2 separate regions of the Homo sapiens genome follow, and region 2 is linked to region 1. The links are contacts of gene promoters, found by promoter capture Hi-C in blood cells and fetal thymus (Javierre and others, 2016). All regions are on one chromosome and are shown on one strand. The core of a region is centred on a gene start or on the middle of the fragment in contact, and the rest is flanking DNA. Distances in the headings are between cores, read along the strand shown. Region 1 holds the start of KRT1 (keratin 1). Region 2 has its middle 11 kb from the start of KRT78.

Evidence for each region. The method cuts DNA at HindIII sites, captures the fragments that hold promoters and counts their contacts. A CHiCAGO score of 5 or more calls a contact.
Region 2: a fragment that was not itself captured here is called in contact with the fragment with the promoter of KRT1 in region 1 in 6 of 17 cell types (total CD4 T cells, naive CD4 T cells, naive CD8 T cells and 3 more); the score reaches 9.2 in total CD4 T cells.

What each region holds. Positions count from the first base shown.
Region 1 is chr12:52,679,015-52,681,714 of GRCh38, forward strand. It overlaps KRT1 (keratin 1), which reads right to left and starts at 1,393. Exons shown (of 9, transcript NM_006121.4): 1 at 744-1,393. The coding sequence starts at 1,334. The HindIII fragment of the contact is 12,025 bases long and covers 1-1,933 here.
Region 2 is chr12:52,858,679-52,861,378 of GRCh38, forward strand. No RefSeq gene overlaps it. Among named protein-coding and RNA genes, the nearest start is that of KRT78, 11 kb to the left of the region's middle. The HindIII fragment of the contact is 398 bases long and covers 1,052-1,449 here.

The DNA.
Region 1 (2,700 bases), core at 143-2,642:
GCATGGTATTTAAGAGATTTGCCTTCCAAAATTTTGTTAGGTATATTACCATAAAAACTGGTTTGCATCCCCAGGACACACACACATTTCAAAAGTATATCAGGAAAATTCAAAATTGGATTTGAAATTTGTTGTGGATAACCTTGGATTGGCACTATTAATGATTAAGCAAAAAATTAAAAAAATGGTTTATCTGAGTTTTTTAGAGCTGATTTTTGGAGATATTAGTATAAAAAAACTCTAGCCTCATCCAGTACCAATGTAAAATTATTAGAAGGCAGAGCTCCCCTCTGACAGCAAAAGATGTTTGGCACTGACTGACCACATGTTTTCTGCTACAATAACACTCTATACTATGTTCACACTCAACTCCCTTTCTATGGTTAGGAAGACCTTTCCAGGGTTCTCACTTGCACCCTGGAAAGTTCAGTTAGCCCCATTTCTATTATCTTCATTCAACAGATATGAGTCCCAATTCCGCTCAAGAGCTGAATAAAAAGCACTTAAATGTTAATGTCACACTGACCCACCTTTAGGTCGACCACGAACCCTTTGTCAAAGAGAGAGTCATTAACACCATTCACAAGCATACATCTAACATATCTCCTAGGAGACCATTCCACAAAACATCCTTTTAATCATGTAAACATGGAAACTTGAGGTTCAAACCTACTGTGTTTTGACTGCACCAATCCCAAGTGGACCAGCGGCAGCCCTACCAGTGCAATGAGAGAGAAACTCACCTTGTCAATGAAGGAGGCAAATTGGTTGTTGAGTGACTTGATTTGCTCCCTTTCTCGAGACTTCACCTTTTGGATCTCAGGGTCAATCTCCACATTGAGGGGCTGAAGAAGGCTCTGGTTGATAGTGACTTCTTGTATGCCACCAGGAGGGCAGACAGGACCATAACCACCCCCATATCCACCACCCCCAAAGCCACCTCCACCAAAACCACCACCACCACTGCCAAAACCACCAAAGCCACCACCCCCAATGCCACCTCCACCAAAGCCACCACCACCAAAGCCACCACCACCAAAGCCACCACCACCATAACCACCACCAAAGCCACTACCACGTCCACCTCCTCTAGCCACACTTATGGAGATGCTTTTACTGCCACCAAGGTTAACAAGACTCCGACTTCCAAATCCACCACCAGCACCAAAGCTACCACCACCACCACCACAGCTTGAAAATCTCCCACCACCTCCTCCACTGCGGCGTGTGGAGCTGCTGGTGGTCCTGCGCTGGTAGTTGATGATCCCAGCAGAGCCAGAGCTGAAGCCCCCTCCACTTCGGTACCCAGACCTGGAACTAAACTGTCGACTCATGTTGACTTAGAGAAAAGTAGGAGCAAGGTAGAGTAAGGGAAGGAGCTAAACACTCCTCTACCCCAAGCATAGAGACTTCCCCTTATATACAGGGAAGAAATTGGGCTTGGTCTTCTAGAGTCAGCGGAGATGCAGTGCCTGTCAAGGGTTTGGCTTGCCTGCAGCCATACAAGATTTTTACGAGCCTCAACAATACGATAAACACTACACACCTAGCTCCCAGGATGGGCTCTCAAAATTGCTGTGCATGCAAGATTGGTTCATGTGGTAATTATTTTATCACACAAGATCTTCCTTCAAGCATTTGTGGCTTTGGGAAAACAGGACCCCACATCTGATACCTGGTGTTTCTTGGTAGGATTTCATAACCCCCATCAAAAAGGCATGAAAGTTTCTATTCTCACCTTGCCTTTGTGAGCTACCAAGCACACTCTCTTACCATGCACAGCAGGTGCAATTCCCCGTGCTTGGATCTCAGAAGGAGCTCTCTGGCCCATTTCTAAGATCTTCTTTCCAAACTCCAGAGCTCACTCAGTTACAACCTGACAAAGAGAAAGGGCTTTAATAACTAAAAAATTAAAAGGTCTTTCATAAATATAAGCTTTATAAATATACCACAGTGATTAATTAAAGGAAGAGAAGCTGTCATTGAACAAGATGGATGAGTGGGTGGTCTGGAAGAACCAGAAGGGAGAGACATTTTTTTTCTCTGTTTCTCAGTTATTCCTTTTCTTGTTTCTTTTCTTCAAAGATAGAGCAGGAGACAGACACCAGCAATAGAAAACAGGTAGCAATGGATAGCATGCAAACGCCCTTGAGTGAAAAAGCCCACAGAGCAGTGAGACGAGTAAATAGAAGCTCTAGGACATTTTGTAAAGCACAGGGGTGGAGGTGAGGCTTGATAGGTGATTCAAGCCTCACACTGGACTGCAAAGAGAGAGAGATAAATGCAGATTTGGAAGGGAAGACAATGAGAGGTGTCTGGAGAGCCTTATATGAGAAGTTTAAATTGTTTCTGGAGGTGATAATAATGATAATACCTAACATGTATCAAAAACTGACCATGTACCAGGCACTGTTCTACGTAGCACATATGTATTAACTTGCTTAATTTTCACAACTTTGAGATAGATGCTATTTTTCTCCCCATTTGTAAAATGAGGAAGCAGAGACACAGGGGTTGAATAACGTGATCAAGTCTACACAGTTGGTAAGTGGGGTGCCTGCGATTTGAAGCAAGAATACCTAGCTATCATGTGCAAGATCCTAAACAGCATGTTGTACGACAGCACAGCAGCCGAATTCAAGTCATTCTGCCTGCTGTGTGTAAAGCCAGACAGCACAGGAAGCGCCCCACCACAGAGAG
Region 2 (2,700 bases), core at 1-2,500, 180 kb after region 1:
AGCAGATTACAGAGTGCACCCCTTCTCTACCCCATACCCAGGCAGAGCACACTCTTGCATTCTCTGCCCCGGTACCCTCCTGCCTGCTGGGCTGCAGCAGGTAGCCCCCGCTCCCCTCACTGAACTGGCAGTGAAGGAAAGTGGCACCCACCCAGGCAATGGGTTCACTGCAACAGGGAAAGGGTGCCCCACAGGTAAGCCAAGCTGCTGCCTCTGCAGCTCCCCCATGCCCAGGTAGAGAGGCCCCGAAACCTACAAGGAGGGCATTCCTAAGGCAGAAACCCTGGAGAGAAAGGATTAGCAAAACATTGCCTGGGAGTCCAGAACTGAAGTATATGTCTCCAAGTTCCAAGTTGAGGGTGGGAGTGAGGGATGATGCCAAACTTTGGAATAATAATGGCCCTTTTACCCATGGTGGCTAACATGATCATGTTCTACAACACACTTTAAAAAATACTATTGGGGGCCGGGCGCAGTGGTTCACGTCTGTTATCCCAGCACTTTGGGAGGCCAAAGAGGGCAGATCACTTGAGACCAGGAGTTCAAGACCAGCATGGCAAACATGGTGAAACCCCATCTCTACTAAAAACACAAAATTAGCTGGGTGTGATGGCGCATACCTCTAATCCCAGCTATTCAGGAGGCTGAGGCAGGAGAATCACTCGAACCCCAGAGGTGGAGGTTGCAGTGAGCAGAGATCACGCCACTGCACTCCAGCCTGGGCAACAGAGTGAGACTCCATCTCAAATAAATAAATAAATAAAAATACTATTGAGAACTCTCTGAGTGCCAATCACTGTGCTGGGCCTGTGCAGATCCTTCATCTTCTTTTATCTTCACCACAATCTGAGATGTGGGTATTATTTTTCCTTGCTCTACAGACACAGAAATAAAGCAATTGTCCAAGATCTCAAAGATGGAAAGAGGCCAAGTTAGGATGAAAACCCAGATCTTCTAAACATACACCGCCCCAATAGTCTTCCCAGGAACACTGTACAGCCTTCATGTAGTATGTATATGTACATGTTTCCTGTATAACAAAGAGACCAGAAGCTTCCCTGGTGCTGGGGGCTATGGGGAGAGCCCAAGGGAGAGGACACCCGCTCCCACTCTGCTGCAACACACAGCACTCTGCTCAGGGATGGGGCAGTGGCGTGTTATTGTTACACAAGGGGCTCTCTGTCAGGGAGGGAAGATAAGTCTGTTCTGTAGTGTTTGCCATTTTCCGTGGTGCAAATATTCCATGGCTGATTTCAAGCTGCCACCATGATGTCACTGAATGCAGAGCTGGGAAGAGATGCACACAATCAGGTCTCCTGAGTTTGCTCAAGCAGGCCCAGCACACCATGGGCCAGGGGTGAAGAAAGGGAGACTGTCCCAGGCTGGGAGTCAGGAACACACATCCAGGAACAAACTGCTGGTGCCTGAGAGAGGAAGGGGATTGGACAAAGCTTCCAACTCTGGGGGACCCTGAGAGGGGAAGAGGGAAGTGTTCAGACAAGAACTTGAGTTGAGAGTCCAGACACACCCATCCAGGGCTTAGTACCCAGCCACTGCAACCCTGACCCAATCAGGTTCAGCCAGTTGGGTGCCCTGCTGCTAGCAACAGCTCCTGATTTGGCAAATATTATGAGGCCTGTTACTAAGGACAGCCTCCCAATACCCCAGAGGGTGAAGAGCAACTTCCAGGGGAAAGTTGCCAAGATTCTTACACCCTGAGGATGTTCAGTCGAAGCTGCAGCAGGAACTCCCGGACTGGGAGACAGGGTGGGGGATTACATGGACCAGCTCCCTCCCACTCAACCATCTCGCCAGCATCTCTCCCATGGCCATCTGAGTGCTGTGCCCTGGGTGTTGGAAGTAAGGTTCTGCCCGTCTTCAAGGAACTTCCATCTGAGAGGAGATCTGTATTTTCAAAACTGCAAGCTACAACCCACTAGTGGATTGTGAAATCAATTGCATGAGTCTTTACCAGCACATGAGTGTGCATCACAGGTAGTAAGGGTAATATTGCACCATGAAATTTTGTTTGGGGTGTGTGTGTGTGTGCGCGCATGCAGAACTGTAATATAAAATGAATTTATTATTAGAGATCACTGTTCAAAAAAAGTTTCAGAAATTCCCTGACAGAGGAAGTGGTACCCACACCCAAACACACACAAACCCAAGAAAATAAGACCAGAAACAGGAGCAGCGTTAGGTGTCAGGACTTGGGGATAGAACATAGAGGTTTAGTCTGGGAAACTTTTCCAAAGGAGAGAAGTAATGAAAAGCAGAGTTAGAAAAGGGAAACAAGAAACTGAGGCATCTCTCCCAATCTATCCTGGAAGGGAGAGGAAATTCTCTTAATATCTAATCTAATCCCTAAACCCGCTGATGTGCTCTTCCCTGAAGCCCACCTACTCCTCAAAAGGAAAACCCACAGGTCCCTCCTCCAGGTAACCACCTTTTCTGGGTCATGACAGTGACACAGCTGGTCGGGGCTAGGGAGGGTGGAGTGAGCTGGGCTCGGGGGCACAAACAGCGGCATGCTGGGCACAGCCAGGCAGGAGGGCCCAGCGCTGCAGGTGCTGGGGCAACACAGAACAATACCAGATTCATGCCTGCCCTTGGGAAACGTAGACTCTAGTTAAGAAGACCAAAGTAGGCTGGGCATGGTGGCTCACGCCTGTAATACCAGCACTTTGGGAGGCCAAGGTG